4 separate regions of the Homo sapiens genome follow, and all the other regions are linked to region 3. Evidence: promoter capture Hi-C in 16 types of primary human blood cells and fetal thymus (Javierre and others, 2016). All regions are on one chromosome and are shown on one strand. Each heading gives the region's core, a stretch centred on a gene start or on the middle of the fragment in contact. The rest is flanking DNA. Distances are from core to core; before and after follow the strand shown. Region 1 holds the start of IRAK2 (interleukin 1 receptor associated kinase 2). Region 2 overlaps IRAK2 (interleukin 1 receptor associated kinase 2). Region 3 holds the start of PRRT3 (proline rich transmembrane protein 3). Region 4 holds the start of CAMK1 (calcium/calmodulin dependent protein kinase I).

What was found. The method cuts DNA at HindIII sites, captures the fragments that hold promoters and counts their contacts. A CHiCAGO score of 5 or more calls a contact.
Region 1: a contact is called between the fragment with the promoter of IRAK2 here and the fragment with the promoter of PRRT3 in region 3, in 2 of 17 cell types (activated CD4 T cells and M2 macrophages). The highest score is 6.2, in activated CD4 T cells.
Region 2: a fragment that was not itself captured here is called in contact with the fragment with the promoter of PRRT3 in region 3 in 3 of 17 cell types (total CD8 T cells, erythroblasts and naive CD4 T cells); the score reaches 6.0 in total CD8 T cells.
Region 4: the fragment with the promoter of CAMK1 here is called in contact with the fragment with the promoter of PRRT3 in region 3 in 1 of 17 cell types (monocytes); the score reaches 5.1 in monocytes.

What each region holds. Positions count from the first base shown.
Region 1 is chr3:10,162,961-10,169,630 of GRCh38, reverse strand. It overlaps IRAK2 (interleukin 1 receptor associated kinase 2), which reads right to left and starts at 4,712. Exons shown (of 13, transcript NM_001570.4): 1 at 4,583-4,712. The coding sequence starts at 4,676. RefSeq lists an enhancer at 134-644 and silencers at 4,398-4,547, 4,748-4,877. The HindIII fragment of the contact is 5,632 bases long and covers 2,523-6,670 here.
Region 2 is chr3:10,192,809-10,199,413 of GRCh38, reverse strand. The region is part of intron 2 of IRAK2 (interleukin 1 receptor associated kinase 2); the gene reads right to left. Among named protein-coding and RNA genes, the nearest start is that of IRAK2, 31 kb to the right of the region's middle. RefSeq lists an enhancer at 2,395-2,689. The HindIII fragment of the contact is 326 bases long and covers 4,591-4,916 here.
Region 3 is chr3:9,950,567-9,956,780 of GRCh38, reverse strand. It overlaps PRRT3 (proline rich transmembrane protein 3), which reads left to right and starts at 4,373. Exons shown (of 4, transcript NM_207351.5): 1 at 4,373-4,459. It overlaps PRRT3-AS1 (PRRT3 antisense RNA 1), which reads right to left. Exons shown (of 4, transcript NR_046734.1): 4 at 1,994-2,177. RefSeq lists a silencer at 4,335-4,874. The HindIII fragment of the contact is 9,295 bases long and covers 1-4,887 here.
Region 4 is chr3:9,768,077-9,774,598 of GRCh38, reverse strand. CAMK1 (calcium/calmodulin dependent protein kinase I) reads left to right here and starts at 4,652. Exons shown (of 12, transcript NM_003656.5): 1 at 4,652-4,767. It also overlaps a transcript of OGG1 not described here. RefSeq lists a silencer at 4,702-4,881. The HindIII fragment of the contact is 10,493 bases long and covers 1-6,000 here.

The DNA of each region.
Region 1 (6,670 bases), core at 3,463-5,962, 210 kb before region 3:
GTGATGTTCAGGGAACAAGGGAAGATAACCATAAGGTCTGACTGCCTGTGGGGTCGGGCAGAATAGAGCCATATTTTTCTTCTCACAGAGAGCCTATAGATGGACGTGTGAGTAGGAGAAATATCGCTGAATTCTTTTCCCAGCAAGGAATATTAATAATTGATAACCCTGGGGAAGGAACGCATTCCCGGGGTAGGTCTATAAATGGCCACTCTGGGGGTGTCTGTCTGATGCAGTTGAGATAAGGGATGAAATATGCCCTGGTCTCCTGCAGTGCCCTCAGGCTTACTAGGATTGGGAAATTCCAGCCTGGTGAATTCTAGTCAGACGGGTTGTCTGCTCTCCAACCCTGTTTCCTGTTAAGATGTTTATCAAGACAATGCGTGCCCAGTGGGACATGGACCTTCACCAGTAATTCTAATTTCACCTTTGCCTTGTGATCTTTTATTGCCCTTTGAAGAATGTGATCTCTGGGACCTACTCCCTATTCGTACACCCCTCCCCTTTTGAAATCCCTAATAAAAACTCGCTGGTTTTGTGGCTCGGGGTCACCATCACGGTCCTACCAATGTGTAACAGCACCCCCAGAGGCCTAGATGTAAAATTTCTCTCTTTGTACTCTTTATTTCTCAGACCGGCCGACACTTAGGGAAAATAGAAAAGAACCTACATTGAAATACTGCGGGCTGGTTCCCCTGATATTGTAGTAATCTATAACTGCAACAGGAGGAAACTAATAGACTAGAAAGCTAGCCCCAGGTAACACAGGGGGAAGAACGTCCCAGGCAGAGGGAACAGCACCTGCAAAGACCCTGTGTCTGGCCCAGGGAGGTCAGTGTGGCTGGAGCAGGGGAGTGACAGTGGGTGTGGAAGAAGAGGAGGTCAGAGAGGCCAGCACTGGGCAGATGTGTCAGAGTCAACATGCCTGGCAAGGTGTTCAGATCATATCCATCCCAGTGGGGAGCCTCGCAGAGGTATTCTCCAAAGAAGATGTGCAAATGGCCAACAAGCACAGGAAAAGATGCTCCACAGCATTAGTCATTAGGGAAATGCAAATCAAACCACAGTAAGATGCCACTTCACACTGGCTCAGGTGGCTACCATCAAAAAAGCAACAATAAGGCCGGACATGGTGCTCACACCTGTAATCCCAGCACTTTGGGAGGCCGAGGCGGGCAGATCACCTGAGGTTAGGAGTTTGAGACCAGCCTGGCCAACACGGTGAAACCCTGTCTCTACTGAAGATACAAAAATTAGTCAGGCACGGTGGTGCATGCCTGTAATCCCAGCTACTTGGGAGGCTGAGGCACAAGAATCGCTTGAACCCAGGAGGCTAAGGTTGCAGCGAGCCGAGATCATGCCACTGCACTCCAGCCTCAGCGACAGAGCGAGACTCTGTCTCAAAAAAAAAAAAATTAAAAAAAGAAAAAAATAACACATGTTGACAAGGATGTGGAGAAATGGTCATCCTCATACACTGGTGGTTCAGCCACTTTAGAAAACATCTGGTAGCTCCTCAAATAGTTAAACATAAAGCCAGATGCAGTGGCTCACACCTGTAATCCCAGCAATTTGGGAAGGTGAGATGGGCAGATCGCTTGAGCTCCAGAGTTCAAGATCAGCCTGAGTAACATGGTGAAACCTGTCTCTACAAAAAATACAAAAGTTAGCTGGGTGCAGCAGTGCACACCTGTAGTCCAGCTACTCAGGAGACAGGAAGATCGCTTGAGCCCAGGAAGTTGGGGCTGCGGTGAGCTACATTTGCACCACTGCACAAAATCTTGTATGTGAGTGTTCACAGCAGCACTATTCACAATGGCCCAAAAGTGAAAAGAACCCAATGCCCAACAACTGATAAATGAATGAAATGTAGTATATCCATACCATGGAACATTATCCTACAATAAAAAGAAACTGGCTGGGCGCGGTGGCTCACGCCTGTAATCCCAGCACTTTGGGAAGCCGAGGTAGGTGGATTACACGGTCAGGAGATCAAGACCATCCTGGCTAACACAGTGAAACCCCATCTCTACTAAAAATACAAAAAAATTAGCCGGGCATGGTGGCAGGCACCTGTAGTCCAAGCTGCTAGGGAGGCTGAAGCAGGAGAATGGCATGAACCCAGGAGGTGGAGCTTGCAGTGAGCCGAGATTGCGCCACTGCACTCCAGCCTGGGTGACAAAGCGAGACTCCGTCTCAAAAAAAAAAAAAAGAAACTAAGTATTGACGCATGCTACAACATGGATGAACCTCATGTTAGTTGAAACAAGTCAGTCACAGAGCACTATATATTATATGATTCCATTTATATGAAATGTCCAAAATAGGCAATGTCTAAAACTCAGGAAAATGGAAGGAGGGGATTGGAAGTTAACGGGTACAGAGTTTCTTCTTCGGGTGATTAAAATGTTCTAAGATTGATTGTGAAGATGGATACACAGCCCTGTGAATATACTAAATACCACTAAATTGTACTCCTGAAACAGGTGGATTGTATGGTATGTGAATATCTCAGTAAAGCTTTATTTTTTTTTTAAGTCATAGGTATGCCTTCTAATTGAATTTCCTAGAAACAGAAGTTGTTCTGGCATTTGTAACTGAGGGCTGGGCCAATGTGGAAAAAATGAGAGGGAGTCTCACACAAAGTTTGTTCACTGCCCAGGAAACATTCAAAGTAGTGAAGCCAGGTCCAGGAGCAGTGGCTCACGCCTGTAATCCCAGCACTTTGGGAGGCCAAAGCGGCCAAATCACATGAGGTCAGGAGTTCGAGACCAGCCTGGCCAACATGGCGAAACCCCATCTCTACTAAAAACATAAAAATTAGTGGGCGTGGTGGCACATGCCTGTAATCCCAGCTACTCGGGAGGCTGAGGCAAGAGAATCACTTGAATCCAAGAGGCGGAAGCTGCAGTGAGCCGAGATCTCGCCACTGCATTCCAGCCTGGGCCACAGAATGAGACTGTCTCAAAAAAATAAAAATGAAAAGAGAATATTACAACTTATGACTTATAAGAATATTTAACACTTAGGTGTCAGTGCTTTTATACAGTATTTTCATTCCTCACAACTTTATGAAGAAGCTATAATTATCATCTCCAGTTTACATACAGATTCAGAAGCTGAGGCTCAGAGAGGTTAACAAACTGGCCCAAAGTCATACAGCAAGAGCCTGGAATGCAGATCTCCACCTGGAAAGCAGAGACAACAGGCAAGCGGCCTCCCCGCAGAGTCCATGGCCCTCTCCGCCAGTCATCCGTCAGGCACCAACAAACAAAACATATGGAGGCTGTCTGAGTGCCTTCCCACGGAATTATCTAGAACTGTGCACCTTGCAATAGAGTGAAAGTAAGTGCTTGTGCTTAGGCCCCATTATACACACTGAATCTATTAGGACACATCTGATCTCAAAACAGGTTGATAGTCATAAATACTGTGATCAAAACAATGTACACTAAAAGTAAATATCTGATTTTAAAACTATAATGGTAAAGTACATTTAATCACAAATATGATAAATAGGCTGGGCACAGTGGCTCACGCCTGTAATCCCAGCACTTTGGGAGGCCGAAGCAGGTGGATCGCCTGAGATCAAGAGTTCCGGAGGCCGGGCGCGGTGGCTCATGCCTGTAATCCCAGCACTTTGGGAGGCCCAGGGTGGGCGGATCACAAGGTCAGGAGATCCAGACCATCCTGGCTAACACGGTGAAACCCCGTCTCTACTAAGAATACAAAGTTAGCCGGGCGTGGTGGCGGGCGCCTGTAGTCCCAGCTACTCAGAAGGCTGAGGCAGGAGAATGGCGTGAACCCGGGAGGCGGAGCTTGCAACGAGCCTAGATCGCGCCACTGCACTCCAGCCTGGGCGACAGAGTGAGACTCCGTCTTAAAAAAAAAAAAAAAAAAAAAAAAAAATAGTTCAAGACCAGTCTGGCCAACATGGTGAAACCCGGTCTCTACTGAAAATACAAAAAATTAGCCAGGGTGGTAGCGGGCGCCTGTAATCCCAGCTACTCGGGAGGCCGAGGCAGGAAAATCGCTTGAATCCCAGAGGTGGAGGTTGCAGTGAGCCGAGACCGTGCCATTGCACTCCAGCCTGGGCAACAACAGCGAAACTCCGTTTCAATATATATATATATGTTAAATCATAGATCCTTCTAATATACACTAAAACTAAACACACCACACACACACACACACACACCCCCCCAAGAAGTGACAGCACCGTGGGTCCCTACAGGGTCGAGGCTCGCACTTTGCAGGCTGTTGTGGGCTGGATGAGAGGCCACCTGGGGACGTCACCGAGCCAGCAGCGCTGACAGGAGGGCCCCCGTACCCACCGTTCTCTGGACTCAGAGCGCAGTGGCGGCGGCCCCTGCTCGTCGACAGACGTCCTCAGAGACCACGCGGCACCTTCAGGTGACAGGCCGAGGTCCGCGGCGGACCCGGTCCAGGAGGCTCAGCTCGCACGCCCTCGGATCGGGACCCGCTGAACCCGGGTGCCCGAGGGAGCTTGGCGGCCGCTCCAGGCGGGATCGCTGGGGGCTCCGGTCGCCCTGGTCCCCTCCCCTCCCCGGGCCGCACTCACCGAACTCCATCCAGTCCCACTCGCTGAGCGCGTCCATGTTGCGGCACAGGTCGTCCAGCACCCAGGAGGGCAGCTGGTAGATGTAGCAGGCCATGGCACGCTACGGGGCCGGCTCCGGCGCGGGACGACTGGGTCGGACACTGCGGGCTGCGGCTTCTCTAGCCAGGGGCGGACCGGCGGGGAAGTGGGCGGGGCGGGAGGGCACCAGCGTCCCCAGCGGCCACGGGCGGCACGACGGCCCCGCCGGCTCCACCCCAGCGCCGGCCAGAGAATCGGAACTGCGAGGGGAAACTGAGGCCCTGGTGGGAGAAGGCCACACGGGAATTCTGCCGCAGCGGCAGGAGGCCTTCTGACCCCACTTCCATCGGCACTACACCATGCATCATGCGCTCATCAAATACTCCATTAATTACCTACTGTATGCCAGGCAACTCCCTAGGTGTTGGTAATACCTGAATAAGAAACCCTACAGCCGGGCGCGGTGGATCACTCCTGTAATCCCAGTACTTTGGGAGGCCGAGGCGGACGGATCACGAGGTCAGGAGTTCGAGACTAGCCTGGCCAATATGGTGAAACCCCGTCACTACTAAAAATACAAAAATTAGCCGGGCACGGTGGCGCACGCCTGTAGTCCCAGCTACCTGGGAGGCTGAGGCAGAAGAATCGCTTGAACCCTGGAGGCGGAGGTTGCAGTAAGCCCAGATTGTGCCCTTGTACTCCAGCCTGGGTGAAGAGTGAGGCTCTGTCTCAAAAAAAAAAAAAAAAAAAAAAAAAAGCCTACAAAAGCCCTTGCTTTCATAAGACTTACAATCTAGGTGTGGAGAGAAAGACTAACAATAAATAATAAATATAGTATGTTACAGAGTGTCTTAAAGGTAATAAGCACTATTGCAAAAAAAAAAAAAAAGGAAAAAAAGTTGGTTAAAGGGAATCAGGAATTCAGATTGAGCATGGGGAATATTCTATTAAATAGGGTAGTCAGGTAGACTTTACTATAGTAGCTAATATGTATCGTGCAGCTACTATGTGCCAGGCACTGTTGTAGGTGCTGGGAATACCTCTGAAGAGAAGGACAAAATCCTTGTCCTGGAGGGAGACAGACAACAAGCAATAAAAATAGGCAGATAAGCTATGTTGGAGAATGAAAGTAGAAGCCTGGGCAACATAGGAAGATCTTATCTCTACAAAAAACTTTTTTTTTTTGAGACGGAGTCTTGCTCTGTAGCCCAGGCTGGAGTGCAGTGGCGCAATCTTGGCTCACTGCAGCCTCTGCCTCCCAGGTCCCGGTTCAAGCAATTCTCCTGCCTCAGTCTCCCGAGTAGCTGGGATTACAGGCACGCGCCACCACGCCCAGCTAATTTTTGTATTTTTAGTAGAGACAGGGTTTCACTGTGTTGGCCAGGATGGTCTTGAACTCCTGACCTCGTGATCCGCCTGCCTCGGCCTCCCAAAGTGCTAGGATTACAGGCATGAGCCACCACGCCTGGCCTCTACAAAAAATTTTAAAATGAGCCAAGCATGGTAGTGTACACCTATAGTCCCAGCTACTCAGGAGGCTAAGGTGGTAGGATCTCTTGAACCCAGGAGTTTGAGGCTGCAGTGAGCTATGACTGCACTGCAGCCTGAGTGACAGAATGAGACCCTGTCTCTGAAAAAAAAAAAAAAAAAAAGAAAGAAAAGAAAGAATAAAAGTAGAGGGTGGTAAAAGGGAGTGCAAGTGGCCAATTGCATTATCTTAGATGATACTATTACTGGGAAAAAAGCAGAGTATGGTGCAGGGGACTGCAGGACAAACTGGATTATTAAATAGGGTATAAGGGGCTGGGTGCGGCGGCTCCCACCTATAACCCCAGCACTTTGGGAGGCAGAGGCAGGCAGATCGCTTGAGCCCAGGAATTCGAGACCAGCCTGGGAAACAGAGCAAGACCCTGTCTCTACAAAAATTAGCCAGGCATGGTGGCATGTGCCTGTAGTCCCAGGTACTTGGGAGGCTAAGGTAGGGGGATCACTTGAGCCCAGGAGGTGGAGATTGCAGTGAGCCAAGATTGCACCACTGCACTCCAGCCTGGGTGAGAGTGAGACCCTGTC
Region 2 (6,605 bases), core at 3,504-6,003, 240 kb before region 3:
CCTGTTCAGAGATGAGGAAACTGAGGCCTGAGCAGGTTAAATGACTTGCTAAGATCACATGCCAAAGGCACGCAGGACTGGCCGAAGAACTCCCCTGCCTTCTCGAGGGTAATCATTTCCTTTTTACATCAACTTGGGAAACCCCAAAGGTGCTTCGAGGGTGTGTCAACCTCAGCTTCCAGCCAGCTTCTCAGAGCTGCTCTGTGAAACAGCTTCCTCTCCCCTCCTCCACTGGGCCCTGATCTTATCCCTTCTGGCTGGGCCCTGCCGCCAGCTCAGGCAGCCTCCACACCCTTGCCAGGCTACTTCTTACCAAAGTATACATCTGGCCTCGTCACTTCCCTGCTTGAAGCCTTTATGGGGCTCCCCATTGCCTAGATAATGTCCACACTCCTTAGCCTGAATCTTTCTGTCTCCCCATTGCCTCCCAGATAAAACCTGATGCTATAGCCCTGCATTCAAGTCCCTCATTCTCTGGTGGTTTGGGATAGACTCATGTTTGAGAATGACAAAAACTGGGGCACTGAAGTCCCAGGAAGGGCTGCTGACTCGCTTGATGTCACACAGAGCATGACATAAAGCATGACACAGGGGATGTCACAACAGATGTCCCAGGTAGGGCTGGGACAAAACATCTCCAGCAACATTTCTTTGAACTGGTCAACTGTGCCTCTCTAAACAAAACCAATTGTTACCCTGGGACCTCACTTTTCAAACCCAAGCTTTTGAACTAAAATAATAGGACCTAAATTTGCATAGCACCACACTGGTATGGCACCGTGCATATTTATTTAATTTTCACAACAATCTCTGGTAGTTCATAGGTTTATCTGCATTTTATTTTTGAGTATATTGAGGCTCAGATAAGTGAAATGACTTGTGTCAAGTAAAACAGCCAACAACAGTCAAACCTGGGACTGGTTTCACTGTCTCCCACCCAGCTAGGGCAGAACTATTGAAACACCACTGCCATCACTGCCACCACCAGCCCCAATTCCCCCAGGGGCAGACGCCCCAATCCCCAGACAAACAGGAACAAAGGGGTGATCACTGACTTCCCCAGGGTGGGAGGAGTTGGGGAGACATCGGGAATGCACAAAAATAACAACAAGGCTGAATGTCGGGGGGTGATGAGTGGCTTCGTCCTTGTGTTTTCTTTACTGTCACTGACATTTTAAATAAATTTTCGTTTTGTTTTGTTTTGTTTTGTTTTTTGAGACGGAGTCTCGCTCTGTCGCCCAGGCTGGAGTGCAGTGGTGTGATCTTGGCTCACTGCAAGCTCCGATTCTCGGGCTCACGCCATTCTCCTGCCTCAGCCTCCCGTGTAGCTGGGACTACAGGCGCCCACCAGCACGCCCGGCTAATTTTTTCTATTTTTAGTAGAGACAGGGTTTCACTGTGTTAGCCAGGATGGTCTCGATCTCCTGACGTCATGATCCGCCCTCCTCAGCCTCCCAAAGTGCTGGGATTACAGGCGTGAGCCACTGCGCCCGGCCTGAGTGGCTTCTTCCTTGTGTTTTCTTTACTGTCACTGATATTTTAAATAATTTTTTTTTTTTTTTGAGACGGAGTCTCACTCTGTCGCCCAGGCTAGAGTGCAGTGGCACAATCTCGGCTCACTACAAGCTCCGCCTCCCAGGTTCACGCCATTCTTCTGCCTCAGCCTCCCGAGTAGCTGGGACTATAGGCGCCCACCACCACACCCGGCTAATTTTTTGTATTTTTAGTAGAGACAGGGTTTCAGCGTGTTAGCCAGGATGGTCTCGATCTCCTGACCTCATGATCCGCCCTCTTCAGCCTCCCAAAGTGCTGGGATTACAGGTGTGAGCCACCATGCCCGGCCCTCCTTTGGACAACTTTTATGAAGACTAATGGAGACACTGCTTAGCTCAAAATATGGGACCTTTATTTCTGTGGTGGTTATAGTCTTAAAATATTGGTTATCTCTTAAATAGTCCACATATTGAGGATAAGAAGAGTAGGATGAGAGTCTTTTAGTTTTCTTTTTCTTTTTCTTTTTTTTTTTTTTGAGACAGAGTCTTACTCTGTTGCCCAGGCTAGAGTACAGTGGAGGAATCTCGGCTCACTGCAACCTCTGCCTCCTGGATTCAAGCGATTCTCCTGCCTCAGCCTCCTGAGTAGCTGGGATTACAGGTTTGCAACACCACATCCAGCTAATTTTTTTTTTCTGTATTTTTAGTAGAGATGGGGTTTCACCATGTTGGCCAGGCTGGTCTTGAACTCCTGACCTCAAGTGATCAACCTGCCTCGGCCTCCCAAAGTGCTGGGATTACAGACATGAGCCACCGCGCCTGGCCTGTTTTATATTGTGGGGTTTTTTTCTTTGTGATTTATTCATATCATAGAATTTTTCAACAAAATCATTATGCATTATTTACACAGTAAAGTATACTTCTTTTAAAAAAAATCAGTTAGCAAGCTAGCTAAAGTAATGACGAGAACTGAGTCTTCCAAGCTAGTGTGAGTAGCGTTTGCCCTGGGGACCCCTCTGGCTCCAGTGAGCAGACGATGAATCAGCCCTTCATGAGATTCAGATCCACCTCACTTCTGTTTTTCACCAACGAATGTCCACGTTGTGTATTGATACGTTCAATTCAAGCACCCTCCCCACAACCCTGGAGATCTCAAGTCAGGAAGCTGAGGCTCAGCGGGGAACAAGACCTGCCCAAGGGAAACAGGGAGGCAGGCAGCACTGAGGCAGGAAGGCGGGGTCTCCTCCCAGAACCACTGACGTAAGGGCACCCAGAGAACATGCACTTCTCTCCCAACCTGGGCTCCACGGGCACTTCAGTGGTTCTATAGGCCACACCCCCCCATCCTGATTGCCATCAGGCCAAGGCCTTTGTGGCTGAAACTCGGAGTCTAGAAGCCAGTTTCTCTCCAACAAGGGCCTTGCCTGCAGGAATCACAGGATCACTGTCTGCCTCATGGCATCCCACTGCCTTCCACAGGCCCAGGAGGAGAATAAACAGTCCCTAGGCCGGGCACAGTGGTTCACACCTATAATCCCAGCACTTTGGGAGGCCAAGGAGGGCAGATCACCTGTGGTCAGGAGTTCTGGACCAGCCTGGCCAACATGGCGAAACCCCGTCTCTACTAAAAATACAAAAATTAGCCAGGCGTGGTGGTGCACACCTGTAGTCCCAGCTACTCAGGAGGCTGAAGCAGGAGAATCGCTTGAACCTGGGAGGCGGAGGCTGCAGTGTGCTAAGATTGTGCCACTGCACTCCAGCCTGGGCAATAGAGCAAGACTCTGTCTCAAAAAACAACAACAACAGAAAACCAGTCCCTTGTACAGAATGACAATGAACAATGTCGGGGTGAGTGCTGATTCAAGCACGGGTCTGGAACAGAGCTGTCGCTCCCAGGGTGCACAGAAGTGAAAGCTCTGCCTGTGCTCCCTTGGAAGGCTACCCCCCGCCACTCCCAGTCCTCATCTTTCCCAGCCTCCCCTCTCTGGCAGGGAGAGACTGCCTCTCTCCCTCCACCCTCCCTCCTCAAACTGCCTCAAGTGGGGCTTATGCTCCTGGAAAGGCTTGTCATCCTTGTGACATCTGTGTCAAAAGGGCAGCAGTGGCTCCCCTGGCTCAGGGCCGGCTGGGCTCGCTGAAGTCACTTCCCAACAGTGACCTCCTGCAGAGGCCAGGCCCGCAACAGTATAAAATGCTCCCTAAAGGTCTCACCTACACCCAGAACCGCCCATGATCCCAGCAAATGAGGCACCTTCTCCTTGTCGGAGGCCTGCCTGGCTGAGCCTCATTGTTCTCATCACAGTAAAACGGGGATGAGGGTGATACTTACAGCCTTACTTAACTTCAGTGTCCTGTTCCTTTTTTTTTTTTTTGAGACAGGGTGTTGCTCTGTCACCCAGGCTATGCAGTGGTGTGATCACAGCTCACTGCAGCCTCAAACTCCTGAGCTCAAGCTATCCTCCTCTCTTAGCCTCCCATGCCGCTGGGATTACAGGCAACACCACGCCCAGCTAATTTTTAATTTTGTGTAGAGACAGCATCTCACTATGTTGCCCAGCCTGGGCTCAAACTCCTAGGCCCCAGTGATCCTCCCACCTTGTCCTCCCAAAGTGCTGGGATTACAGGCCTGAGCCACTGCTCCCAGTCCAGTGTCCTATTCAGGGTAATGTTTTGTTCAGCACAAATCTTTGCCTCTCTGTCAAAACACATTTGGCAGGAACATCAAGGCCACCAACCCATTTGTGGCCGACCTCTGTGGGCTCCACCCGTGGGGAAGATAAAAAATGTCATTATGTTTTCATCCTAAAGAGAGTCCAGCTTTTCTCTTTCTTTTTCTTGTTCCTTCTGCAGTGACATGCGGTGGCCCCACCTGGCACCACAGGGCATTTGGAAGTGAGCAGGAGTGAGGAACAGATGGGGAGGGGCGGTGTCGGCAGGGCTACCTGTGACCAGACCTGTCAGCACACTTGGGGCTAACATCCACCCTCCCACACAAGAGGCACCAGGTCACACCAGCCACGGATGTAAGCCAACAGAGCCCCATGTCAGCCCCAACAAGAAGTTCTGGTTTCCTGTGAAACCCCCATCTTCTCAAGCTTTGAGTTTTTAGATGTCTTTAAAATGCAAGCAATAAATGGTGCGTATAAACATGAACCGCCCTCATCTCCACCCTGGAGCTGCCGGCATGGTCTGAGCTGGGTGGACAGGCAGGCCCATGCATGCCTGTCCCACTGTCCAAACATGAAGATGGAGAAAATGGCCTCTGTCCTCATCCCTCCAAACCTGCTCCCTGCTAGCTAGAAAGACGCAACGCCCACTCATTCAGGCTGGCACACCAGAGAGCTAGTGAAATAAAAATAGAACACCAAAGGCAGGATGAGGCAAAGGAGGCCAAATGCCTACAAGAAAGGGCTGTGACAAGCTTTAACTCTCGCACTGAGCTTCCTATCTGCCAAGGCCAAGGCTCAGGAGTGAGCTGCTCACGGACTTCTTATCACAGATAGACAGGGGCAGCCTCAGGCTTCCAAGACAGCACTCTTTCCTCCCAGGATTAAATTCTCAAGAGAATTCCACACATAAAGTTGATTCTGCAGGATCATGAGATCCAAAAACACAGACTGTGATCAAAGAGTAGAACTAGGATCACAAGAGTAAGCGTGGGGAAGCGTCGGCTCTGGCTTGAGCCAGACCCAAGCTCTGCGATTCCAGCTTCACGCCCAGGCACAGACCTCCTAACCCTCTGAGCTTCATGCGCCTCTCCTGTGGAATCAGAATAATAACCCCACACCTCCCAGGGCCGTCCCAGGGCTCCATGATGACAAATGTGAAGTGGCTGGCCCAGGGCAGGGGCCCACAACACTGTGCAAACAGCCACCCTCCTTCAGTTCTGCCAGAAAGGTGCAGATAGAAAAGAACCTCTGATTCCCAACTCGGGCCTCCGAAGGAAGCATTTAGGGTGGAAGGCTATTTTTAACATTTTAAACACTCTAATGGAAACCGATTCTAGGTGGGCAGCAACTTGGTGCACAGTCCCGAGAGGTACAGTGGCCATGAGAGCAAAGTAACATAGGAGCCCAGCAGCAGGGGAGGTGGGGGCCTGTGCCCACGCCATTGGCAGCCAGCCTCAGTCACACACTGGAGGTGGGCAGCCCAGGGTTCTCCCTGCTGGGACCCCCAGGGATAGGAAGGGGACGCAGGTGACGGAAGGAACAGCTAATCTATAGCTTAGGTGGCCACAGGCACCAGAAGGTTGACACGGCAGTTCTCAGACAGAGTCTGGATTTTTTGTTTTTGTTTTTGAGGCAGAGTCTTGCTCTGTGACCCAGGCTAGAGTGCACTGGTGCAACCATAGCTCACTGCAGCCTCTACCTCCCAAGTTCAAGCAATCCTCCCACCTCAGCCTCCCAAGTAGCTGAGACCACAGGAGCACGCCACCACGCCAGGCTAATTTTGTTTTTGTTTTTGTTTTTGTTTTTTTTTGGTAGAGACAGGGTTTTGCCATATTGCGCAAGCTGATCTCAAACTCCTGGGCTCAAGCAATCTACCTGCCTTGGCCTCCCAAAGTTCTGGGATTACAGGTGTGAGCCACTGCACCCAGCCTGGAATCTGGATATCCGTGAAAGCTGCCTTGCTGAGGCTGAGAACCCACAGTGATGAGGGCTGAGTCCCAGATACAAGGAGGAAATGGGGGAGGGGCAGAAGCGCTTCTCTGTGCCCCTGTCATGGTTCACCAGAGCTGGTTGCCAGGCATGATTTCTTTTTCTCTCTGATTTGTTTTCGGAATGCCTGTGCTCTTCCTAATGAGCATGAATCACTGATGCCACGGAAGGCAAATGAACTCCCGCAGTCTGGAGTGTGTCCTGCAGTCAGGCTCACCAGCAGGGGGATCCTCCTAAGCCTTGGCTTCCTCATCCGACAAATGAGATGTGGAAGTGGACCCCCGACCCGAGACCAGCCATGAGGATAAAAAAATTAACACCCAGCAGATCTAAGCTACCATCATTTGCTATAGTCTCGCTCTGTTGCCCAGGCTGGAGTACAGTGGCACGATCTCTGCTCATTACAACTTCTGCCTCCTGGGTTCAAGCGATTGTCCTACCTCACCCTCCCGAG
Region 3 (6,214 bases), core at 3,124-5,623:
GCATCAGATTTCACACACAAAAAAAATAAATAACTCTTGGCCAGGTGTGGTGGCTCACGCCTGTAATCCCAGCACTTTGGGAGGCCAAGGCAGGCAGATCACTTGAGGTCAGGAGTTTGAGACCGGCCTGGCCAACATGGTGAAACCCCATCTCTGCCAAAAATACAAAAATCAGCCAGGCCTGGTGGTGCATTCCTGTAGTCCCAGCTACTCGGGTGGCTGAGGCAGGAAAACGGCTTGAACTCAGGAGGCGGAGGTTACAGTGAGCTGAGATTGTGCCACTGCCCTCCAGCCTGGGTGAAAGTGAGAGACTCTGTCTCAAAAAACAAACAAAAAACCTCTTTAAAAAGATCAGGTTTGTTTAGTTGGTGTTGGTGGAAGCTAAAATCTGAGAATGAGTAGGCTAAGACTCCAGGAGCCCTTCAGGCTGAATTTGGCCAGTTTGGTAAAAGAGTATAACTCCCCGTGCCCTCAGAGTTCAGGACAGTGGGCAGAGCACAGAGAAGGTTCACCAGCCTGCACTTTCTCCCACCTGTTCTCCCTTTTGTTTATTTTCTCATGCCTGCCAGAGCAACCAGCCAGAATGAAAATGCCAACCAACTGTCCTGGGCTTTGTCTAAGCAGGAGATTTCATCATTGCCAGCCCCATCTTCTTTGCCTTTTCTTTCTCACTCTTTCCTTGGGGAGTCACAACAACTTTCAGCTCTGTTGGTTTGAAGTCAACAGAGATCCAAACTGGAGGGCCTATTTTCATGGACTCAATTAACTCCTAACACAGTAGGGGCCGCCTGGAAGGCCTGGGGTTTCCCTCTCCCCCACTTTCCTCTCTCAGGTTCTTCCAGAGGGGCAGGAGGGTGTCATTACTATTAAGAGCACTGGTTCTGGCCAGGCGTGGTGACTCATGCCTGTAATCCTAGCACTTTGGGAGGGCGAGGCAGGCTGATCACTTGAGGCCAAGAGTTTGAGACCAGCCTGGCCAACATGGCGAAACCCTGCCTCTACTAAAAATACAAAAGCAAGATTCCATCTCAAAACAAAGAGCACTAGTTCTAAAGTCAGGCCTGTGGCTTGGCCCCTTAGTTGCTGCATGACCTTTAACAAGTTATTGAACTTCTCTGAGCTTCAGCTTGCCAGCTGTATAATGAAAAACATAAAACCTAGGGTTGTCATGAGGACTTAAAAAGAATAATGGTGTGTAGCATAGTTTTTGGCAGACCAAGTGCTTGGTGAACAGGAGATATTGACCATCCCTTGTATACTTGGAGTCACCTTCCATTTATCCCCGCCGTCCCAGAGTCTGCAGAAGGATGCTGGGAGCTCCATCTGGAGCTGAGATACTCCCCGTCCACACCTGCGCACCTCGTGTTCCCCGCTTACATTCACCTCCACCCCAGCCAGTCTCCTCTTTCCGCAGGATCAGCTTTCACCTTGGCCTCTAGCCAAAGGGATCCTAATCTCTCTTGCATTTGTTTGGAATCTCAGAATGCCTGCCGGTTGGTGGTTTAGAAACGCGATGGGATTGGGGCCCCTGGTTCCAAAGAGGGCAGCCAGCAAGCAGCCAGATGGCCCTGCATGGACTGGGAGGTCAGGCACTCACACACCTGCCCTTCTCAGGAGAAACTGAGGAAGGGAACCGGGCCAGCTCTGAGCCTGTGGAGGGAATCTCAACATCTCCAAAGGAGGCTCCCAGCGAGTTCACAAGGGGAAGTGAGAGGAAGGATCCAGACTCCTCAGCTTCTGTAGGGGGCCCTAGGACTGCATTCTGGCCAAGACTGCCCACATGGGAACAGACACAGGTCCCCCAAAGGAAGTTAGGATGCTGTCAGGAAGGGAAATGGTTATTGCAAAACCCTCCAAAATGTCAATCAGCTATATGTAGAATCAGGATCCAGTTAACTTCCTACAAGATTGTAACAACAGGCTGGATCTAACAAGATAAACAACAAACAAATGTAGAATCCTACATTAAGAGTCAATAAACCAGTGGTACATGAAGAGATGGGAAGACTTTACTACTAGATCAATTGGGTAACAAAGTAATGTGGCTGCTAGAAACATTAATTCAGTGTGAGGCCGTATGAATGGAGTAGAATCCTGGAAAGGAGAGGTGAAGGTTCAGCTTTACTCCCAACAAGGTTCATTTCCAAGAGTCCTACTTTCAGAGGGGCGTTGTTGAGCTGGTAAGAAGCAAACAGAGAAGAGATTCCACATGGTGAGAACCCAGAATCCTGTCCTGCAAGGAACAGCTGAAAAACTCGGAGTGTTTGTCCTGGAGAAAGAAGACTCTAGAGAAATGAGAGATGCCTTTACAATTCTGAAGTGGCTCCAACAAGGAAAACAGAGCTGGTCAGGTCATGTGTGAAACGGGCAAGGCCTGCACCCTCTCCCAGAGTCAAGCAGCTGAATGCAGGCCCCACCATTTACCAGCCATTAGGGATGGAATATTCTTCAAACTGCAACACGTCAGACACAACTGGGGCCTGAGTATTGCTTTTCTGTGAGAGCTAGAGGTAGGAAGCCATTGGGAGGGAGATGTCAGCTCAGCCCTAGGAAGAATTTTTTCTTTTTCTTTTTTAAGTGAAATTTGATTTTTTATTTGATACTGGGTCTCTTTCTGTCACCCAGGCTGGAGTGCGGTGGTGCGACCTTGGCTCACTGCAACCTCTGGCTCCTGGACTGAAGTGATCCTCCCACATAACCCTCCTGAGTATCTGGGACCCAGGTGCGCACCACCACACTTGGCTAATTTTTTTTTTTTTTTTTTGGTAGAGATGGGGTTTTGCCATGTTGCCCAGGCTGGTCTCGAACTCCTGGGTTCAAGCAGTCCTCCAGCCTTGGCCTCCCAAAGTGCTGGGAATATAGGCATGAGCCATTATACAGGCCAAATTTTCTTCTTCTTCTTCTTCTTCTTTTTTTTTTTTTTTTTTTTTTTTGTCAGTCTCGCTCTACTGCCCAGGCTGGAGTGCAGTGGTCATTGCACTCCAGTGACACAGCTTGTGGTCAATGGACAGAGTGGTCAATGCACTCCAGTGACACTCCAGTGGCCATAGCTTACTGCAATCTTGACCTCTTGGGCTCAAATGATTCTCTGGCCTCAGCCTCTGGAGTAGGTAGGACTACAGGCATGTACCACCACGCCCAGCTAGTTTTTTTGTTTTTTTGTTTGTTTTTTAATTTAAAAAAGTCTCACCATCTTGCCCATGCTGGTCTTGAACTCCTGGGCTCAAAATGATCCTCCTCTCTAGGCCTCCCAAAGTGCTGGGATTACAGGTGTGAGCTACTGCACCCAGCCCTATCTCATTTTTGATAACCACATATATTTCCTGTGTGGCTTTCCCTTAAGGAATTGAGCCTAATAATGGATGTTTAGTATATCAAGAGGTGTTCAAAGAAAGACCAAGAACATTTTGACAGTGTCTACCAGCCCCATATGCAGACCCATAGATTTTACTACCATGCCTCGGCTAGGCAATTATCTGGTAGGTGCACTAGTGTACGTGCACAGTGATGTGTTAAGCAAGGAATGGCCCCTGCTCCATTATCCCTGCGAGCAAAAGGCTAGAAACAACCTATGTCCAATTACAGGGGACAGGATAAAGAACAATAACTAGCTGACCATATGCTGGAATTCTCAACAGTGGATACAAGAAATGATATAGATCTATAGATATTTACATGAAAAATGTGCCAGAATATATTGGAAAGTGAAAAAGACAAATTACAGAAATGTGTACAGTGGCTGGGCACGGTGGCTGACGCCTGTAATCCCAACACTTTGGGGGTCCGAGGCGGGCTGATCACCTGAGGTCAGGAGTTCGAGACCACCCTGGCCAACATGGTGAAACCCTGTCTCCACTAAAAATATAAAAATTAGCCAGGCATGGTTACTAGGGAGGCTGAGGCAGGAGAACCACTTGAACCTGGGAGGCGGAGGTTGCAGTGAGCCGAGATCACGCCACTGCACTCCAGCCTGGGCGACAGAGCAAGACTGTCTCAAAAAAAAAAAAAAAAAGTATACAGTATGATGTCATTTCTATTTAAGATGTACATGTAACTGTACATTGAGAAGAATCTGAAGGATACATACCAAGCTGTAGGTAGGATTTACCTAAAAGGATGTAGGGATATAGAAAGGAAGTGAGCTCCCCGTCCCATGAGGTATGCAAGCAGAGGCTAGCTGCCCCGTTTTCAGGGATGCTGCAGAAGACATTTCCACATCCCTCAGAGATGACCTCGGTTCCACTCTGAGCCCTGACAATCCCTGAGCGAGGGGAAGTCAGGGTTGACAGAAGAGTCCACCCCTAAGGGGAAAGAGTTAAGCAGGGCTGCGCTCCTGTGGGCGGGCTCGCGATCGGCAGCGCCGGGCTCTGTTAGCCGAGTCTGAGCATCTCGGAGGATGCGGCGCGGCGATCGGCTGCAGGGACGCGCGCAAGGTGAACACGGGGGCTGCGGCGCGCAGGTGAGGAGCTGGCCCAGGGAGGGGGCGATGGCGGGACCCCGACGGGGAGCGTGGCCTGCTGCCCCCGTCGCGGGCGCAGGCGACCAGGCCTGCACGGCGCCCACCCCCATCCAGGACACTGCGGGAAGGCGCGGAGCCAGGGAGAGAGGAGACGGAGGAGGAGGAGGAGGAGGAGGAGAGGTAACCCGAGATGGACCAGCTCCGAGGCTGCCCCGCAACGGCCTCGCCCTGCCCCCAGGCCGGCCTCTCCCCAGTCCCTGCGGCAGAGAGATCCGCCACCCCCCACAGCCTCTCCAGCAGAGTGGGAGCCCAGGGCTGGGCAAGCCCCCGCCTTGTCCGCAGGTGCCCACATCTCTTGGGTTGGCAGTGGTAGGCAGATGGCATGTTTATCTTTGGAGGCCCCATTCAGCCGTTTTCTCGGCAAAGCTTTTTGGACCTCCTGTGGAAGATGAGCCTCCGAGGGTTTCACAACCCCGATTGTGTCCACTCAGCTGTGTGACCTTGGGGGAGTTGCTCACCCTCTCTGAACCCCCGTTTCTTCCCCCTGTGAAATGGCTGTTCCCACACCTTGTATTGGGAGGGCGGAGTGACGTGTTGCTAAGCTCAGCGCAGGAGCCTCACTGGGAAAGAACTAAACACAGGAGCACTGTTTTTAGCCAGTACCTGTGTTAGGGGCGTCTCAGCGCACCCCTACTCCCAACCCTGGAGCAAAGCCCTGTCTCTGGGCCCCCAGCACCTAGCCTAGACCAGGAGCAGCCCATGGGGCTCCGTGAATGTTTGAGAAATGAACTAACAAGGCTTTAAGACAGAGTCTAAACTCGAGTTTGGAGGATGGGACTCAAAGGTCTTTGAACCCCTTGAAATTGTTCACAACTTTCGGTGAGCCTGGGTCTTTTCCCCGGGAGAGCACCAGGGGTTTTCAGTGGCTTCTTAAGGTGTCTGTGAGCCACCATGGGTTAACAGCCAGGAAGCTTTGGGGACAGCTGCTCCCCAGAGAGGAAAAGAGCAGGGCCTCTGCCGCCAAACACACCCAGGCTTCAGCTCTCGCACCCTCCATGAAACCTCTCCTGGTGGTGGGGCCCCTTCCTGCCTCCCTGGCCCACTGACAGGCTCTCGAGAACAGGAACTTTTAGGGGATATCCACGTGGGGCCAGGTATATACTGGAGGCTGCAGGTTTGAAATAAGAGGCAGGAGATTATTATAGAATCAGACCAGAGTGACAAGTGCCCAGGAAGATGAGGGAAGGAAGGCGGGAAGAGGAATGTGTAACGCTTGTCAAGCATCAGGTATGAACCTCGCCCATACCTGTTTGGTTATTTGTCTCATGCCTTGAGTTAGGCATGCTTATTATCCCCATTTTACTGATGGGAAAACTATGATGCAGAGAGGTGAAATGACTCCCCCAGGAAATGAAGACACTGGGATTCAAACTCAGGCCCCTCGCCAAAGGCCGGTGCATATTCCTCTCCCTCTCCACGTCTCTCATTTTTGAAGTGGGCCTTTAGGAATAACATTTCAGGCAGGGTGCAGTGGCTCATGCCTGTAATCCCAGCACTTTAGGAGGCCAAGATGGGCAGATTACCTGAGGTCAGGAGTTCAAGACTAGCCTTGCCAACATGGCAAAACCCCATCTCTATTAAAAATATAAAAATTAGCCAGGTGTGGTGGCACATGTCTGTAACCCCAGCTACTCGGGAGGCTGAGGCAGGAGAATCACTTGAACCTGGGAGGTGGAGGTTGCAGTGAGCCGAGAT
Region 4 (6,522 bases), core at 3,403-5,902, 180 kb after region 3:
TGTTATCAATCCTGTGTGCTGTTTATATAATAAATATATTAAGCCATTGTCTACAAAACATTTCCCCAGTCTGAAGTTTGCCTTTCATTTTTGGCTACCATTTCGGAGTAGAGTAGGGTTTTCACTTTTTGAAAAAAAGTTAAAAAAAAGTAACAAAAGTTAAAGTTTTGTTTTTTTTTTTTTTTTTTTTGAGACAGAGTCTGGCTCTGTCATTCTGGCTGGAGTGCAATGGTGCAATCTCAGCTCAATGCAGTCTCCGCCTACCAGGTTCAAGTGATTCTCCTGCATCAGCCTCCCGAGTAGCTGGGACTACAGGCATGCGCCACCACACCTGGCTAATTTTTGTATTTTTAGTAGAGATGGGGTTTCACTATGTTGCCCAGGCTGGTCTTGAACTCCTGACCTCAGGTGATCCTTCTGCCTTGGCCTCCCAAAGTGCTGGGATTCAGGAGTGAGTCACCACGCCCAGCCAAAGAATTTTAAAAAATAAACCTGTCCATCTTTTCCTTGTTATTTCTTCCATTTTCTCTAATCTTAGTTAACTACTCACTCTTTCAATAGCTTCTTTTCTGTCAGGTTCAAGAATTCATGGAGGCCAGCCATACTGGCTCACGCCTATAATCCCGGCACTCTGGGAGACCCAAGCAGGAGGATCACTTGATTCCAGAGTTCCAGAGAAGTCTGGGCAACAGAGGGAGTAGAGACCCGATATCTACAAAAAATAAAAAACTAAAAAAAATTAGCCAGGTATGGTGGTACACACCTGCAGCCCCAGCTACTCCGGAGGCTGAGGTGGGATGATCACTCCAGCCTGGGAAGTCAAGGCTGCAGTGAGCCATGATGGCGCCGCTGCACCACAGCCTGGGTGACAGAGTGAGGCCCTGTCTCAAAAAAATAATAAATAAATAAATAAATAAAAGAATTGATGGAGATGTCTGCACTGTTTAGCCATTCAAAAAAAAAAAAAAGAAGAAAAGATCATCCCCCTTTTCCCTGAGAACATTTGACTTTCCTTGACTCACCTTTTTTTAAATTATTATTCATTTATTTATTTTTGAGACGGAGTCTCGCTCTGTCGCCCAGGCTGGAGTGCAGTGGCGCGTGGTCTCTGCTCACTGCAAGCTCTGCCTCCCGGGTCCACGCCATTCTCCTGCCTCAGCCTCCTGATTAGCTGGGACTACAGGCGCCCGCCACCACGCCTGGCTAATTTTTTGTATCTTTAGTAGAAATACAAAAGATAACAGGGTTTCACCATGTTAGCCAGGATGGTCTCGATCTCCTGACCTCATGATCCACCCGCCTCAGCCTCCCAAGGTGCTGGAATTATAGGCGTTAGCCACCGCACCCAGCCACTTTTTTTTTTTTTTTTTGAGATGTAGTCTTGCCGTGTCACCCAGGCTGGAGTACAATGGTGCAATCTCAGCTCACTGCAACTTCCATCTCCTGGGTTCAAGCAATTCTCCTGCCTCAGCGTCCCAAGTGGCTGGGGATACAGGTGCATGCCACCACACCCAGCTAATTTTTGTATTTTTAGTAGAGACAGGGTTTCACCACGTTGGCCAGGCTGGTCTTAAACTCCTGACCTCAGATGATCTGCCCACCTTGGCCTCCCCACGCCTGGCCCTTCACTCACTTTTTGATTAGTACTTTGAAATGTGCTCATCGGGACTGGGGGCTGCAGAAGGATGTATATGTATACGCATCCAAAAAATCTGGAAGAATTGTACTAAAAATGTGAACACTGGTTGTCTCTGGTTGGTGGGGGCCCGGCTGAGAGTGTTGTGTTATTCTTGCCTCCCTCGCACCCCTAATTCCTTTGGACAAGATACCTCTTCCATTCCTTATGGCTGCCCATTACAGTACACTTGCTCAATATAGCACCCTAATTCTCCTGGCAACAGTTTTGGAGGCCAAGGGGTGAACATGTCACTCTATCACTCAAGCAGAGCCAGAGTCCTTCCCTGAGAATGAGATAGGAAATTGGGAGGATGCTTTCCTTCCACTGTGTTTAATTGGAAAGCTGGGGCTGCCTCACTCCATGTTTCCTGCCAACTAGAAGTTCACTCTGGAGAGAAAAAGAGGCCAACGTGTGAAGAAAAATCAAGACAAGGAGAGAGGAGGGAAGACAGAGAAAGCAAATCCTATGAGTACTACATCTCCAGTTCCAGTCTCCAAGCCCCTAATCTCTGGTGTTTTTCCTGCAATCTTGTGCCAGCTATTGTGAACTATAGATTCCTCTTGGATGAAGCTGGTTTAGGTTGGCATTCTGTCACTTGGGAAGCGAAAGAATCTCATCAGTTAGTCTGTGTGTGTTTTCAATACATTATGGAATTTTCCTGCAATGACCATGTATCACTTGTTCAATAGAAATACTAAGAAAGTAAAGATAATGTGTTTGTTAAAGAAAAGAAAACACGAGGCCTCTCAGAAATGCTCAAAAGCAGGAAAAATGTAAAGCACACCATAGAAGCTGTACAAGTCAGCTGGGCGCGGTAGCTCATGCCTGTAATTCCAGCACTTTGGGAGGCTGAGGCAGGTGGATCACCTGAGGTCAGGAGTTCGAGACCAGCCTGACCAACATGGTGAAACCCCCATCTCTACTAAAAATACAAAAATTAGTTGGGCGTGTTGGTTCACGCCTGTAGTCCCAGATACTTGGGAGGCTGAGGCAGGAGAATTGCTTGAACCCAGGAGGCGGAGGTTGCAGTGAGGCGAGATGGCACCATTGCACTCCAGCCTGGGCAACAGAGGGAGACTGTCTCAAAAAAAAAAAAAAAAAAAAAAAAAAGAAGTTGTACAAGTCCTCGAAAGGACAGAGGTCATCTTATCACCCAGGGGGTGTTGTCATCAAGATGAACAGGAATTTGTGGTAAAAGAACCCCTAGCTCAGTGGGTGTGCTTGGTGGGTATAGGGGAGAGTGGGGGCTCAGCCCTGAGCAGGAAATGTATTTTTCCATGAACTAAGGAGTCTGAGATACTGAGATTTGGAAGATGGATCCCTTAACCCCTCATCCCTGGCCAAATCAAGTCCTCTCTCTGAGTCTCAGTTTACACTGAGTCTAGCTCTCATGTTTTGAATAGTGTTCTAGGCACTTCATATCATTATATCATAGAATTCTCAGAACTCTGAGTCAATCTTCAATATTCCCATGTTCCCGAGTAAGAAACTGAGGTTCGGAGAGGTAAAGCATGACCAGGATCAGTTAGACTCCAAAGCCTTTCCAGGAACCTCAGCTATCTTCCTCTCTCATCTGTAAGATGGGCATAATAAATTGGCCAGGTGCAGTGGCTCATGCCTGTAATTCCAGAACCTTGGGAAGCTGATTGGGGAGGATTGCTTGAGCCCAGGAGTTTGAGACCAGCCTGGGCAATATAGTGAGATCCCCATCTCTACAAAAAATAAAAAAGCCAGGTGTGGTGGCACGCACCTGTAGTCCCATCTACATGGGAGGCTGAGGTAGGAAGATGACTTGAGCCCAGGAGTTTGAGGCTGCAGTGGGCCGTGATCATGCCATTGCACTCCAGCCTGGGTGACAGAGCAAGACCCTGTCTTAAAAAAAAAAGAAAAAGAAAAAAAGAAGAAGAGAAAGAAAGAAAAAAGAAAGAAAGAAAGAGAAAAAGGAAATGAGCTGGGCATAAGCACTGTTCTCTCCCCATCACCAGCTGGAACATGCAAGAATTCAGGAGTAGGGAGTGGCACTTGGAGGCCCTTGGAGGTGGAGTGGGGTCCCAAGCAACGTGCCTCCTCCGGCTGCCCCCAGTTCAGCCCCATCCCCAATTCCTGCGAGTTGCTCCCCCCGCCCCCTCTTTCCACTCGGCACCAAATTTCTTCCCAAGGAAGGCCTTGAGCAAACCGACCTTTGGCCTCTTGCCTGCCGTCCTAGTTGCAGGCTCTCTCCCCTAACCTGGACCCCAGCCATCAAACTCTGGAGCCCCGCCAGTCACGTGACACCTCGGTCCTTTTTGGCCTGTTTCCTTCAGGATCCCGATTTAACTTCCTCCTCCCCAATTCCCTCTGCCCCCAATACCTCTAGGCACCACCACCCGCTCTGAGGAGCAAGTGTCTGGGGCTGAAGCCTCAGCTCCATCTTGCAGAGGAACCGGGGCCTCAGTCTTCCCACCTGTCAAGTGGGGCCCACACCCTGCGACCACCTCCACTCTCTTCATTGCCTAGTCTTGCCCGGTCCTTCCCCACTCCCTCACTCCCCCATCCCCCACCAGACTCCCGTGCAGTTCCAGGGCCTGTTTCCCTTCAGGGCACGGAGAAGGGAGACAGAGCCCTAAGGGAGGTCGCAGAACTGGTCTGAAAGAAAATCCACCAGGCCACAGGGTGAGTTTGGCCGGCCTCTAGCTTCAGACAGACGGGGTTCGAATCCTGCTTTGCTTCCGACCACCCGCTGATTTGAAAATCATCTCTCCGGGCCTCAGTTGTCCCCTCTGTGAAATGGACCCCGCTTAAGACCAAGGGCGGGAAGCGTCCAGCAGGAGATCTCTGACCAGAAGCAGGGAGATGGCCTCCACCCGTGCCCCTTCCCCAGCCTTGGAGCGGTGCCTCGCCTCCCAATCCCGGGTCCCTCCGCCGCAGGCTCCACCTCCACTGACATCAGAGCCGCAGGCGGGCGGAGAGAGCCGCCGAGCCGAGCCGAGCCCCAGCTCCAGCAAGAGCGCGGGCGGGTGGCCCAGGCACGCAGCGGTGAGGACCGCGGCCACAGCTCGGCGCCAACCACCGCGGGCCTCCCAGCCAGCCCCGCGGCGGGGCAGCCGCAGGTACAGCCGGGCCCCCCATCCCTGCACCCCTGGGCGCTGCGTGGGGGCGGTGGGAGCCCCTAGCCTCTGGGTATCCTTTCCCAAGGAGTGGCCACTGGGCACTCTCCCGGGCGGGCTGGACCCTGAGGGGCAGGGCTGGGCCTTTCTCCACCTCTGTCCCAGGCCCAGCAGGTGCCAGGCGGGCCTATGGGACACTGAGTGGGTAATAGAGAAGGGGGCCTGTGTGAGCGCCTTCAGCTGGGCCTGACTGGAAGGGCGTGGGCATTTGGAGGTATCCATGGGGTGGGGGGGCTTGCGGAGTGTACTGTCTTAGGACAGGCGTGTGGGTCAGACATGGGTGGAGGATCTGGGAATCTGTGTGTTTTTTGTTCCAGAGGGGTGTCCACGTGTTTTGTGTGCTGGTATTTGGCTCTCAGGGTCTTAAGTCAGAGTTAGGAGGGGGTGTACAATTGTGTACTGAGGATGTTTGGAGTTAGGTGTGTAAGGACTTGGGGTTTGGTTTGGAATACAGGAGCTTCCAGGGGATGGGGTAGAGGAGCTGGAGGGTGTAGGGTACGTCTGGTATATGAGGGTGTGTGTGTGTGTGTCTGGGTGTCATCTTGTGTGGGTGCGGGTGGATGTGTGTTTTGGGGTGTAAGAGGGAGCTGGGTGAGGGATGTTTGGATGGACAGGCAGGTGTTCGGGTGCAGGGCTGTCTGGGGCACTGTGTGGTGTGGACATGTGTGCTGATGTCTGGGAGTACATGTATGATCAGGTGTCACGGGATGTGGATACAAGGCGTACTGGATCTGGGAGGCAGGTGTTTGAGTTCAGGGCTGTGGAGGGGGCTTGGTGTGGCATGTCTGCTACAGGGATGTGTGTGGATCTGTGAGGGTTGTATTTGGTAGGCCTCCATGTGGGTTTCAGACTCTGCCTCTAGAGCTTACACTCGAGTCTCCTTTCCTAGAAGATTCTGCCCCTGGATGGGTGGGCAGGGTCCCCTGGGAAAAAGGTCCTGTTCCAGGAGTGGAATCTCACACCAGAGGCCCTAGTCAGGGCACCTTCTCCTCATTCTCCCTTAGAGAAAAAGAGAGAAGGAAAGTGCTCTCCCTGAGGTCACAAAGCATGCTGGGCTCTGTTTTGGCCTCATCTGTGGATGGGTTGGGAGGCTGTGTTCTCTGAATGGGGCCCATTCTGGCTTCATATTGGAAGTACCAGCCAAGGCCATTCGATGGCCTTTGCCCTCAGCAAGCTTAGCTGGGGGCCCCAGGCCAGGTGTCATTAGGGCCTCTGGAGCCAGCCTCTACCTAACTCCAACCTCAGTCTCCCCATTCTTCATCTGATAAATGGGAGAGAACTCCCACCCTCTCCTGCTGGATGAGACAGACCTCAGCAGAGGAAGGGCCAGGCTGGATAGGGTTAGATGGGGCCAGGAAGGGACAGAGTGAGCAGGACCATTTCTCATGCTCCCGGGACCCAGATGGGGAGTCAGGAGGGAGAGGTCTGGGGAGCTCCAGCTGTGGCTGTTGTTGCTGTGGTAACAGTGCAGAAAGAGCTATTTAAAAATGTGGCTGAGATGTTGCTGGAAGCCCAGGCTGCTGGAAACCTGATTTCGGAGAGGCCGGGGAGTCGGGGGAAGGAGGAGGGAAAGGAGACACCCCAGCAATCCCCAGGGTGGGGCGGGGACATCACTGGTTCTGGGGACAGGGGGATCCTCCAGGCTTCTACCAGCTGCTCTGGGGGTTTATCTGTTGTACTGCCAGAAGTCAGGGTTTC